Regions from separate parts of the Homo sapiens genome. Here region 1 is linked to region 2. The links are contacts of gene promoters, found by promoter capture Hi-C in human tissues and cell types (Jung and others, 2019). All regions are on one chromosome and are shown on one strand. The core of a region is centred on a gene start or on the middle of the fragment in contact, and the rest is flanking DNA. Distances in the headings are between cores, read along the strand shown.

The links. Contacts are between HindIII fragments. The study calls those that stand out against the background at their distance.
Region 1: a fragment that was not itself captured here is called in contact with the fragment with the promoter of IL20RA in region 2 in 1 of the 25 tissues and cell types used here (hippocampus).

What each region holds. Positions count from the first base shown.
Region 1 is chr6:137,524,874-137,531,676 of GRCh38, reverse strand. No RefSeq gene overlaps it. Among named protein-coding and RNA genes, the nearest start is that of OLIG3, 34 kb to the right of the region's middle. The HindIII fragment of the contact is 5,378 bases long and covers 1,797-6,803 here.
Region 2 is chr6:137,039,118-137,046,677 of GRCh38, reverse strand. IL20RA (interleukin 20 receptor subunit alpha) reads left to right here and starts at 1,713. Exons shown (of 7, transcript NM_014432.4): 1 at 1,713-2,037. The coding sequence starts at 1,950. RefSeq lists silencers at 1,901-1,960, 1,991-2,100, 2,171-2,220. The HindIII fragment of the contact is 8,751 bases long and covers 1-4,244 here.

The DNA.
Region 1 (6,803 bases), core at 3,236-5,735, 480 kb before region 2:
CCCCTGTCCACCAAACTATCCTTGACAAACTCTAACCTCTGAGCCTTCAGGGGGATTGATTTGAGTGATAACTTCAGTTCTCCCACGTGGCCAGCCTTTTTCTTTACTGAAATACCACGTTGTCAGTGAATTGATTTTGCCTCTGCAGCAAGCGGGAAGAACCTGTCTGGTGATCAAAGAAAACCCAGGCCTACCAACCAGATGAGGTGAAAAGGAATTCAAGCAGAAGATCAGAACTGTGTTGTCAATATTAAGAACTGGCAAGTAAAGAAAAAAGACAGACATGGCCTCCTTGTATCCATGTATTCACTTTTTGCTTCTGGTAGCAGGAGACAGAGAATACACTGACAGATAAATATAATCCAAGTCAGCCAGGAATAAGTGAGATGGAGAAAAGTGAAGCAGACCCCAAGGAATATAAATCATTCTATTATAAAGATACATGCACACATATGTTCATTGCAGCACTATTCACAATAGCAAAGACATGGAATCAACCCACATGCCCATCAATGATAGATTGGATAAACAAAATGTGGTACATATACATTGTGGAATACCATGCAGCCATAAAAAGTAATGAGATCATGTCCTTTGCAGGGACATGGATGGAGCTAGAAGCCATTATCCTCGGAAAACTAACACAGGAACAGAAAACCAAACACCACATGTTCTCACTTGTAAGTGGGAGCTGAATGATGAGAATGCATGGACACAGGGAGGGGGACAATACACACTGGGGTCTGTCAGGGGAATGGGGGGTGGGAGAGCATCAGAATAAATTGCTAATGCATGCTGGGTTTACTATCTAGGTGATGGATTGATAGCAAACCACCATGGCACAGGTTTACCTATGTAACAAACCTGCATATCCTGCACATGTATCCCAGAACATAAAATAAAATTAAATTTAATTGAAAAAAAAAAAAGTGAAGCAGAGGAGATGGATGGAGAAGATGGAGTAAAGTGCTGCTTCGTGAAGAGTTTTCAGGGAAGGCCTCTCTGCAAGGTGACTTTGGAAGAGACTGGGCCATGCAGCCACCTGGGAGGAAGAGCACTCCTGGTGGAGGAAACAGCAGGTGAAGAGGGAACATGCTAGACATGTTTCCAAGAACTGCCATGGGGAGCAGAATTAGCAAGAGGAGAGTGGGAGAGAATGAGCTGGGAGGTATCAGGCAATCAGCTCTACTAGTGATGGGAGGGATACTGGTTAAGGACCTTGCCTTTTACTCTGAGAAGCCACTGAGGGTTGCACAGAGGAATACCATGACCTGTTTCCAGCTGCTCTATTAAAGGAGCAGGAGTGGAAGCAAGAAGACAAATTTATGAAGCCACTGCAATAGTCTAGGTCAGAGGTCAGCAAACCTTTTCTTTAAAGAGCCAGCTAGTAAATATTTTTGGCTTTGCAAACCATGTGGTTGCTGTGACAAATACTCAACTCTTCCATTGTAGCAGGAAAGCAGCCACAGACAATAAGTAAACAAATGGGTGTCGCCAGACTTGTCTCTCCTATGGCCCTGGCTATATAGTTTGCAGACTCCCAATCCAAATGATGGGGGCTTAGAACAGAATGGTAGCTATACAGGTGTTAAGATGTAGTTGGATCCTGGGTATTTTTGAAATAACAACAAACAGGATCTAACAATAGGTCCCATTTAGGACATGAAAGAATGAAAAATGTCATGGATGATTCCAAGATTTTTGCCCTAAGACAACAAACAAACAAAGAATAGAGCTATCTTAGTACAGTTGTTCAGGCTGTATGCTGCACAGAGCAACACATTAAAGAGGACCCTGATTACATTATAGACACGCTCATTTGTATATTTATTATTATATTTTTCTATCAAATAGCACTAAAGTGTTTTTTCTAATAAAATATATATCACAATAATTTTCTAAAAGATGGAAATAAAGTACCTTGAGGTACACTACTACTACGGCAGCCAGAAAGTGTTAATACTCACTTTAGAAGTGAGGATACTAAAAAGCACATGTGCCACGGACTAATGTGGAACCAAACTTTTCACTTTAATACATTTTCTTTTCAAATTAAAATTAAAAAAACAAAATGAGTTGTATCATTCTATAACTTATGGAACTTAATTCTTGGGCGACCAGAGAAACCAAACTCTTTCTCTGTTCCTGTTTGCTGAGTTTTCTTTGTGTGTTTTTGTTTTTTGTTTCCTTTGTAGTGTCAAGTCAACAAGGTTGTATCTTTAGGATAATGTATATCTATCTGGAGTTTTATAAAATTATTTAGCACGTAGTACTACTAAAATCTGTTTCTATAGCCTCTTTTAAAGAAGAACACTTGTAAAAAATTTTTTTAAAGAAAGCATGTTATCTCATAAAAGGGAAAATGTGAGAGTGTAAACATATAAAGTATTATCAATAAACCAAAGACAAAAATGCTTGACTGATTCATTTTTCATCTAATATTTAAATTTAGCGAGAGTTGGTATGACTAGGTTATGTCACTATCTACAAAATAGAAGAAAATGTCTTTCTGCAAAACACACACACATCACACACATCCTCTTATTCTGCATGTCATGAAATGTTCTTGTTTTCTTGAGAGGGGGAAATTATTGCCTTAATGTGGTGTATGAAATCTGTATACATTATATGACACCCTCCCCCTAAAAAATCTAGAAAAAAGATGCCGTTTATGTGACTAATAGCTTTCAAATGGAAGTATGAAATCAGTGAGCTACTTATTTTTATACTTATTTGCAAGTTATATTAGCATTCATCGAAATATTTGGGTAGGTAAATCAGTTTTCTTCGAAAACGTTACTTGGAAACTTCCTGACTTCAGAATGTTTCATTTTCAAGATTAATGGTGGATTTCTAACCTATTAAATGGTGTAAATAAAAACTGCTTTCTGACATAACAATGATATCTTAATATTGTCATACTTGAAAAAAATTCCAGGGCAAGGCACAGTGAGTGGCTCACACCTGTAATGGAGGCCAAGGTGGGTGAATCACTTAAGTCCAGCCTGGCCAACATGGCAAAACCCTGTCTTTACTAAAAATACAAAAATTAGCTGGGCATGGTGGCACACACATGCCCGTAGTCTCAGCTACTTGGGAAGGTGGCTTAAACCTGGGAGGCAGAGGTTGCAGTGATCTGAGATTATGTGACTGCACTCCAGCCTGGGAGACAGCATGAAGCTCTGTCGAAAGAGAGCAAGAGAGAAAGAAAGAGAGAGAGACAGAGAGAGAAAGAAAAAAAGAAAGAAAGAAGGAAAGAGAGAGGAAAGAAAGAGAGAGAGAAAGAAAGAGAAAGAAAGAAAGAAAAAGAAAGAAAGAGAAAGAAAGAGAAAGAAAGAAAGAAAGAAAGAAAGAAAGAAAGAAAGAAAGAAAGAGAGAGAAAGAACGAAAGATTCCATTGGACTTTGTATTTCCACTAGTGGCTTCCTGCCAGGAAGAGCAGGGCATGACCTGGGAAAGCAGGTCATGGCTTTCCCTGGCTGGGAAAGCAGGAGTTGGGAAGTAGTTTCTGGTCAGCCTCTACACACTTCATTGTACCAATTTCTTTGGGATGAGATTCAGGTGGGAATTTGGTAAAAGTTCTATATTTTTCCTGATTAAAAACTAAATTAGATGAATATCCTAAAAGAGAGATTAAGAAAATTCCATTTATGTTAGTATAAAAAGAATTAAATACTTAGCAATAAATTTAACAAGGAGGTGAGACTTGTGCAACTACAGAATATTGCTGAAAGAAAACGAAGGTACCAATAAATGGAAAGACATTCCATGTTCATAGATTGGAAGAAATATTGTTGTCACTACTACCCAAAATGATCTAAAAATTCAATGCAATCCTTATCAAAATCCCAATTATGTTTTCTGTAAAAAATAGAAAAATCCAATCTAAAATTCATGTGGAATCTCAAGGGATCTCAAATAGTCAAAACTATCTAGAAAAAAAAAAACAGAGATTTCACACTTTCTGAGTTCAAAACTTACTACAAAGCTATGGTTATCAAAACAATGTGGTACTGGCATAAAGACAGACATATAGACCAATGTAATAGGATAGAAATCCCAGAAATAAACCCTTGTATATATGGCTGAATAATTTTTGACAAGGGTGCCAAGGTCATTCAATAGAAAAAGAATAGTCTTCAAAACTGGTATTGGGAAAACTGGATATCTACATGCCCCTGTCCCCCTGCCAAATAAAAAAAAAAATGAAGTTGGACCCTTACCTTATACCACATAGAAAAATTAACTCAAAATAAATCAAAGATCTAAATGTAAGTGCTAAACTATAAAACTCTTAAAAGAAAATATAGGGGGAAAGCTTTATGACAGTGAATTTGGTAATTATTTCTTGGATATGACATCAAAAGCAGAGACAATAAAAGAAAACTAGAAAAATTGGACTTCATCAAAATTAAAATATTTTGTGTATCAAAAGACAGTATCAACAGAATGAAAAGGAAACCCATGAAATGGGAGAAGTCATATGCAAATTACGTATCTAAGAAGGGGTTAATATTCAGAATATTTAAGGAACTCCTATAACTTAACAAAAGAAAAACAACTCAATTCAAAAATGGACAAAGGACTTGAATAGATATTTCTCCAAAGAAGATATATAGATGGCCAATAAATACATGAAAAGATACTCAACATCACCAATTATCTGGCAAACGCATTTTTTTCTTTTTTAAATTTTACCTTAGGTTCTGGGATACATGCACAGAACGTGCAGCTTTGTTACATTGTATACATGTGCCATGGTGGTTTGCTGCACCTATCAACCTGTCATCTAGGTTTTTAAGCCCTACAAGCATTAGGTATTTGTCCTAATGCTCTTGCTCCCCTTGCGCCCCACCCCCCAAGAGGCCCTGGTGTGTGATGTTCCCCTCCCTGTGTCCATGTGTTCTCATTGTTCAACTCCCACTTATGAGTGAGAACATGTGGTGTATTGTTTTCTGTTCCTGTGTTAGTTTGCTGAGAATGATGGCTTCCCGCTTTATCCATGTCCCTGCAAAGGACATGATTTTTGATGACTACATAGTATTCCATAGTGTATATGTGCCATATTTTCTTTATGGGAAACGCATATTAAAACCACAGTGAGATACCATTCACACCTATTAGGATGGTTAGCTTCAAAAAAGTGTTGGCAAGAATAAGGAGAAATTGGAACCCTTGTACATTGCTGGTCAGAATGTGAGACCACTGTGAAAAACAGTATTTTAGTACCACAAAAGATTAAACATAGAATTATGGTATGATCTAGCAATTCCCCTCTGGATATATACCCAGAAGAAAAGAAAGTATAAACTCAAAGAGATATTTGTGCATCCATGTTTATAGCAGCATAATTCACAAGAATCAAAAGATGGAAGCAACCCTATTGTCCATTAATAGATCAACGAATAAACAAAATCTGGTACATAAATACTATATTAGTCCATTATAATGCTGCTATAAAGAACTATCTGAGGCTGGGTAATTTATAAAGAGGCTTAATTGGCTCACAGTTCTGCAGTCTGCACAGCAAGCATGGCTGGGGAGGCCTCAGGAAATTTACAATCAAGGTGGAATATGAAGGGGAAGCAAGCATATCTTCAAATGACCAGTAGGAGAGAGAGAGTGAAGAAGGAGGTGCTACACACTTTTAAACAACCAGAACTCATTCAAGAGATCAGCAAGGGGGAACTCAGCCCCCATGATCCCAGGTCCTTCCACCACCAGGTCCCTCCCACCAGGTCCTTCCCACAACATTAAAGATTACAATTCAATCTGAGATTTGGTTGGAGACACAGAGCCAAGCCATATCACATATAGATAAATACTTTTGAGCCTTAAAAGGGAAGGAAATTCTGACATACACTACAACATGGATAAACCCTGAGGACATTGTGCTAAGTGAAATTAGCCAGTCAGAAAAGGATAAATATTGTATAATTCTACTTATTTAAGGTATCTAGAGTAGTCAAGTTTATAATGTTGGGGCTAGAGCATGATACCCCAAAGTATGGCACCTTGGCATGCTGAATGCTTTGAACAAAAGGAGGTTGAAAGGTCTCAGAAACAGTCTCTCTGACCCTCTCCCATCCTCCTGTTTCTCGCCTCTCTTTCTCCCATAAAGTGAGTCATAGAAACCAGAATTCCTCTTTCCCAAGGTGGGTCATAGAAACTAGAACCTCTTTTCCCCCAAGCAAGCCATAACCTAGAAAGGTCACTCTCTCTTAAAGACCTTCATTCCACAGGGGTCCTACCCAAGCCCAGGATGAAGGCAGACTACACAGAGAGACCAAGAAGAATCTGAACAGGCAGGCCTTGCTGGGTTTCCCCCTCAGCCTATCACCATTAGATCATACCCTTTGGTCCAGTGACATTTCTACATGGCTGTTCATTCTTCATTGATCCTAAGCATAAAAATAGGCAGTTTTTCCTGGATCTTTGGGTCTTCATTTCTGATGTTTCTCATGTCACATAAAACTTTGATTAAATAAATTTGTTGTACTTTTCTCTTGTTAACCTATCTTTTGTTACAGGAGTGTTGACGGTGACTCTTATGATGGGTGAGAAAAGGTACCACACTTTTCTGCCCCTTCAATAGATATAGAAGGTAGAATGGTGGTTGCCAGGAGCTGGGGGGAGGGGGGAACAAGAATTATTATTATTATTTTTTAGACAGAGTTTCACTCTTGTTGCCCAGGCTGGAGTGCAATGGCATGATCTCAGCTCACTGCAACTTCTGCCTCCCCAGTTCAAGCAATTCTCCTGCCTCAGCCTCCCAAGTAGCTGGGGTTACAGGTGTCCACCAC
Region 2 (7,560 bases), core at 464-2,963:
GAGAGCCTCTCTCAGATTTTTCATATAGTATTTCAAGACTCACCTCTTAATTGCACCCTTCCCCCCTCCCATTATAAAGAGCATGGAACCTAGGACCCACCGCCTTGTGTGGAAGTCCACACACCACTGGTCACAGGCCACTCACAGGTTTGGGGGACTTCATGATGATTCCTAGACTTTCTGAGTTTCCCTTGCCTCATCTGAAAAAAGGGCCAGGACCTAACTGCAGGTTGTGAGAGTTGAATGAAATCAAATAACAACTTTTCAGTCAGTGACAGACTGCATATACAAAGGTGGTCTCATACGATTATAATAGAGCTGAAAAAATTCCTATTGTCTCTAAAGACCTTCCAGGAGGACAGGATGTGAGGTGGCATCAGTGGCACTGACAATCCTGACCCTGTGCAGGCCTAGGCTAATGTGTGTGGTTGTGCCTTAGTTTATAACAAAAAAGTTTAAAAAGTAAAGAAAAAATAAAGAAAAAGAAAAATTTAAAAATAGAAAAAGCTTATAGAAAGAATACAAAGAAAAAATATTTTCATACTGCTGCACAATGTGTTTGTGTTTTAAGTCAAACGTTATTACAAGTCAAAAAGTTTAGGTCGGGTGTCGTGGTTCACGCCTGTAATCCCAGCACTTTGGGAGGCCAAGGAGGGTAGATCACCGGAGGTCAGGAGCTCGAGACCGGCCTGGCCAACATGGCGAAACCCAGTCTGTACTAAAAATACAAACAAATTAGCCGGGCGTGGGGGCACACACATGTAATCCCAGCTACTCTGGAGGGTGAGACAGGACAATCATCAAAACCGGAAGGCAGAGGTTGCAGTGAGCCGAGATCGCACCACTGCACTCCAGCCTGGGCTACAGAGCAATGCTCCATCTCAAAAATAAATAAATAAATAAAGTTTAAAAGATTTAAAAGTAGAAAGTAAAAAATCATAGTAAGCTAAGGTTAATTTATTATTATTGAAGAAATAATTTTTTAATAAATTTAGCATAGCCTAAGTGTAATACAGTGTTTATACAGCCTATAGTAGTACACAGTGATGTCCTAGGCCTTCACATTGACTCACCACTCACAGACTCAGCCAGAGCGACTTCCAGTCCTGCAAGCTCCATTCATGGAAAGTGCCCTATACAGGTGTACCATTTTTAAAATCTTTCATACTGTACTTTTGCTGTACCTTTTCTACGTTCAGACATGTTTAGATACACAAATATTTACCATTGTGTTACAATTGCTTGCAGTATTCAGTATGGTCACTTGCCGTACAGGTTTGTAGCCTAGGAGCAAACAACAGCCTGTACCATATAGCGTAGGCGTGTAAGAGGCTATACCATATAGGTGTGAGTACACTCTAAGATGTTCACACAAGAAACTCGCCTAAGACATTTCTCAGGAGGTAATCCTGTCATCTTAAATGATGCATGACTGTAAGATCTACGGCTGAGTGCCTAACTGTATATCGAGAAATAACGCTCTATTTCATCCGTCTTCCGATATTGAACTTTAACTGACCATCAGACCGGCCTGAATACCAGAATCTCTTTGCAATGCACTCGCCTCGCTCATTACCAGAAGGAGGTTTTACCTGCCTAGTGACCTGGTTGGTCTGGGCATGAACCCCGAGAGGTGGAAACTCTCAGACTCTCAGGACTGACAGCCGAGTGGCTGGGGACTATAAATCCGCGAGAACTGCCCTCGCGCTGCCATCCAGCTGGGTAGCCGGGGGAGCGCGCGTGGGGGCTCCGCGAGTCGCTCGCCCTTGGTTTCTGGGGAAGCCTGGGGGACGCGGCTGTGGCGGAGGCGCCCTGGGACTCAGGTCGCCTGGAGCGTGGCACGCAGAGCCCCAGGCGCGGAGCTGAGGCCGCGCGGCCGCGCTTGGCCCCAGCGGGCGTGGGACTGAGCAGTCTGCTGCCCCCCGACATGTGACCCAGCCCCGCCGCCCATGCGGGCTCCCGGCCGCCCGGCCCTGCGGCCGCTGCCGCTGCCGCCGCTGCTGCTGTTGCTCCTGGCGGCGCCTTGGGGACGGGCAGGTAGGTGGGTCGCGCCGCCAGGTGCGGGTCGGGGATGCCTCCAGGCCGGGGCCCCGCCAGGCAGAGCTCGAGGCCGAGCTCTCCCCTCCTGCCCGCCGGCCAGGTTTCGCTTTCGGGCGGGCAGAGGACGAGGTGCGCGGAGGCCGGAGCTTCCAGCCCCGGGGCTGCAGGGAGCCCGGGGGACACTCGCCGTCGCCTCGCGCACCTTGGCTCGGGGTCAAGTTTGCAGGACTCCGCGCTCCGCACTTTCGGTCTCGAGAATTGAGGTGGGGTGGGGGGAGTTCGGTGGGGGGTGCGCTCTGCGCGGTGCCCACAGCCTATGACTTGCGGTCGGGGACGGTTACCATGCGGGGCCCCTCGCCGGCCAGTCCCAGGTTCCCGCCACCACCGCCGCGGCCGCGCGGAGGGGCCCCTGTGGATGCCGCGTCTCGGCCGCCGGGCCCCGCAGTCCTGCAAGCCGCGCGTCGCGAGATCCGCGCTTTAAAAGCCAAACTCCCCGAAAGGGTCAGCCCCGAAGGAACATGATCCAGAAAGACGCAGCTTCTTAAAGTAAGCTCCCCCTGTCCTGGGTACGCCGTTGTTTCCTTTGCAGTTATGACCATGTACAGATAGTGCTCTTTGATTTTTCAGAAATAACAAAACTTTTAACTCGTTTACGACATAAGGTAACTGAAGAGCTCTTTCGTTTTGTTTGGTTTTTAAGTTTAAATTCTCTACCAATTGGAATCCAGTAAACCAGAATGATTCATTAACCTGATTGCTTTTTTTCCCTGTATTTCTCGTACATGAGAAAAAGATTTTTTAAAAAAACAAAAAAGATATCCGGGATCCCTTTTTAAAAAAATTATTTTAAAAAACAACAACAAAGCTTCTCCAAATACTGTGCTTTGTAGACACTTCGTTCAGGCCCCGCTGTCTTTTAACCCAGAACTGAACAGTAAGAGTGAATGCAGGAAGAAAGTTGACGGTGAATCTGGAGTCCTTGGTAGTTAAAGAAAAAGTTAAATTCAATATAGTTACAACAATAAGAAAAGTATGCACACAGATCTTGGAGAGATTTTGAACGATAGCTATTATACATAAAATATTTTATCTTTTAAATTTATCAGAAATTATAGTTATTTTTCCTTTTAATATTCCCGGGTAGACTGAATGGGAAGAAACGACTGACGTGCAAATATTGAGCCTTCAACTAACAGACAGAAATTTGTTTTTATTTTTAATCGAAGAGAGAAGCTGGGCGCTGTGGCTCACACCTGTAATCCTAACACTTTGAGAGACAGAGACATAGGCAGGAGGATGGCTTGAGGTCAGGAGTTTCAGACCAGCCTGGGCAACATACGGAGACCCCTGTCTATACTAAACATTAAAAAAATAAAAATAAAAAACTAGCCAGACGTGGTGGCAAAAACCTGTAGTCCTAGCTACTCCGTGTGCCCAGGAGTTCCAGACTGCAGTGAGTTATGATCACGCCACTGCACTCCAGTCTGGCCAAGGGTGAGACCCTGTCTTTGGGGAAAAAACCAAAAACAAAGAAAGTGAGAGAGAGAAATAAAATTGTTGGGTGCTGACATTACCAGGTAGTAATGTTCTTGACTTCAAAATAAAATTTACAAAACAAAACAGTAAGAAATCTTTTCTGACCCAAGAGACCTTGATACTACTTTCTTAGCTCTTCTTAGGGTATTCCCGTCCTCTCCTGGGTCTTTGGGCTAAGGTCTAAGGACTGCTGGGAAGACCACCTTAGAAGATGTATGTAGTTACCTGGATACTACCTGCTCGTAATTGAAGGATTATCTACAATGTCTTCTGTACAACGTGGGCTTACTAAGGTTCTATGACTTTGCCACTCTCAGGTAGATTAATGCTTTAATGCTCTCATTTTTTAAACTTCTAAAAATTTTCGTCTCACAGCTCAGTGCCATATCAGGCTGTAAAATACCAAAACATCCAAAGAGGAAAAAAAAAACTCAGCATGTCATGAACCTTGTAGGGAAATCTTGGTATTTCATTTCAGATAAAGTTGTAATGGAATTCAAAATGTCTATGCGGCTCCCTCAAGGCAGGTGCAACACGCTGTCATTCACTCTTGGACCCCTCCAGGGACAGAATTTCACAGTGAAGTTTATCCTTATGGCTTATCAAACTCCGCCCTATTGGCCATTCCCATATCCTGTTCTCAGGAACGATAAAGAACCATGATTAGCATAATATAAACAGGCATTTAAAGTCACTAAGATAGAATGGGAGATGGTGACTTCTCAGGTCATCTGCCTCCTCTGCTCAAAGCCCTTCAGAGGCTTCTACTGTTCCTGGAATCATTCTCAGTTCTACAAGATCCTGTGTGGCCAACTCCTGCCTGTCTCTCCAGCCTTATCTCACACCACCTAATTCCTGCTATCCTGGCCTTTTTCTACTTCCCAGACAAGCCAAAGTGTTTCCCATCTCACTCATACTGGCAGTTCCTCTGGAAGTTCCTACTGGAGATTCATACTGGCAGCCCCTCTGCTAGAATGCTGCTGTGCCACTCTATTCCCAGCTAACTCCTGCTCAGACTTTGGCCTCTCCTGCCAATGTGCTTCCCTCAAGAAGGTCTTCCCTAGGGAGTTCAACAATGAAAACACATGGACACAGGGAGGGGAACATCACACACCAGAGCCTGTCGGGGGGTGGGGGCTAGGGGAGGGATAGCGTTAGGAGAAATACCTAATGTAGATGACAGATTGATGAGTGCAACAAACCACCATGGCACATGTATACCTATGTAAGAAACCTGCATGTTCTGCACATGTATTCCAGAACTTACAGTATATATATATATATATTTAAAAAAAAATAACAGGGTCTTCCCTAAATCCCCAAAGAGGAAAAAAGTATAGCTTATGATGTCTATTAACAAATAAACTTGAGTTTTGGAGCTTTAGATTGCAGTCTAAATACCAAACAACAACTATGCTTATTAGAATGACTTAATGGAGTGAGAGTATTAGTCAAAATGTCTCTTCTTTGATACAAACATGGCAGCATTCCGTATTTTATTTCACTGAGAAGTTATTCCAGGACATACTTCACTCACACACACACATACACAGGGACATAAATGATTCTAGTGAACTAATTAAACTTGCAGAATTATTTTCTTTTTTTAACTTTTAATTTTGAACTAATTTGGGACTTGCAGAGAAGTTTCAGAAATAGCACAAAGAATTCCCATATCCCTCTCACCTGGTTTCTCCCAATTAAAACATCTTATGTAACCATTGTACAATGTTCAGACCAGGAAATTAACACTGGTATAGTGCTACTCACTAAACTATAGACCTTGCTGGAGTATCACCCATTTTTCCAATAATGCCCTTTTTCTGTTTCGGGATCCAGTCCAGGATCTCCCATTACATTTAGTGGTCATGTCCCCTTAGTCTTCTCCAACTGGTGACAGATCCTCAGCCTTTCTTTGCTTTCATGACCTTGATACTTTTGAAGAGTCCCAGTTACCTCTTCCTTAGAATATCCCTCAGTTTGGGTTCATGTAAAGTTTCCTCAAGCTTAGAATGAGGTTATTCAATTTTGGCAGAAATGCCACATAAATTGTCACTTCAAAGGATTTGTAATATCAACATGTCTTCTTATTGGTGATGTTAACCTTGATCGCTTGGTTAAGGTGGTCTCTTCAGAGTTTCTTACTATAAAGTTACGATTTTTCACTGTGTGACTAATAAATATTTTGCAGAGAGATACTTTGAGATTATGCAAAAATCCTGCTTATCCCCAAACTCACACCCAACTATTTTTAGTATCTATCGGTGGATTTTGACTGCAAAAACTACTATACCTAGTAGTGATTTTTTATTTCACTCTTTTTTTCCACATTTATTCATTGGAATTCTATTACAAGGAAGGGTCATCATTTTTGCCTTTTTAGGTATTTATTCAATTGGTTAAGTATATCAGTATGGACTCATGGATGTGTCTTCTTCTTTCATTTATAATCCAATACTATCATTATCAGTTTTATTGCTCATGCTGTTCCAGCTTTGGCCACTAAGAGTTCCTTCAGTTTGGCTCCTGTGTCCCTCTAAGGAACCCCATCTTTTTTGAGCACTTCATTAACTTTCTAGTGCCAACAACATTCCAGACTCATCTAGTGTTTTCCCTGCCCCAGGCCTGGAATTAATGACTTCCTCAGGAAGCTCTGGTTCCTTCTATTGGAGAAAGGTGTTTAGAAACCAAAATCTGGGTGTGAGGCATGCTTATTGCTACTGGAATGTTGTTTCTAGGTGCTCTCGGTGGACGGAGCTGGGAAATATGTGTGTATAGACTAACGTAGTTATACACACACATCTATATTTCTGTATGTATCTGTGGGTGTGTATATATATTTAAGACCGTGAGTTTGTAATGGTGCCACTAATTTCAACCTAACAATCAAGTTTCATTCTAGCCTTCCTCTTTCATTTACAGCCTCTTTGTCTAACAGTGAGAAACCCAGATGTCATTATCTACAATAGACTTATTTGCCTGATTCTAATATAAATATTTTCAGGATTGCTAACTCATGCTCTTATGAGAAAAACGTGTACTTACTAAATTATAGCCTTTATGTACAGTTTTCTGGTCTTAAGCTTTATAATATCCCATGAAGATACTATTGACCAAAGTTACCTGGCTTAGTCCTTTTTTTTCTTTACTCCTTTTGGTGTGGTTATTCTATCCATTTGGGATAAGTTCAGTTCATTTGTTAAACTGCTTGTATTACAATTTGGGTTCCCCCTCATGCTAGTTGTTTTGTTTGTGACATTTGGGGCATTTGGCAGCTAGGTGAAATATTACTGTGCTTATAAAAGTCAGAGCTATACAAAACGGTTTTCTCAGACAAGTGTGGCTCCCTTCTGAGCCCTACTACCTCCTTTCTATTCCTCACCATACCACCACCTCTTTCCCATTACACTATAAATGTGATTACGATGTTGTACTTACACTGTCATTGTGATATTCTGACATCATTTCTACTTTGTTCTTGGTCCACATTCCATGCCATCTCCTTCATTTCTTGTTTATTTTTCCTGAATTTCTTTTGCACCGATGAGCAAATATGTGTATGTTTTAAGATCCAGGTCTAAATCTGATTTCTGTACTGCAGCTAATGGAGGATTTGCTCGCTCAAGTGTTCTTTTTATCAAAAAAGCATGTCTTCTTTTCCAGCCTCTCTCCTATTGCCCTTCAAGCAGACTTGGGGTGATTTCTTATCTATAGATTTGCAGGCCTCCTGATCTATCAGCTTGAGGCCCAGCCCCAGCCTCCCCAGAGAGTATCATGTACCCAACATCCAAGCTTATGGCTACAGGTATCTCCAGCCTCACTCCTCACAATGTGCACTCCTCCTGCCTAGAACTACTCAGCTTCCTATAGAATGAATTCAGGAAAGGCAGTATTTGCGACCTGGAGAGCAGCCAAGGAGATTGGTTACCCATGGAAAGCGGCATGGAATAGGAACGACATAGTAGGGCTGAGGAGGAAGCACCA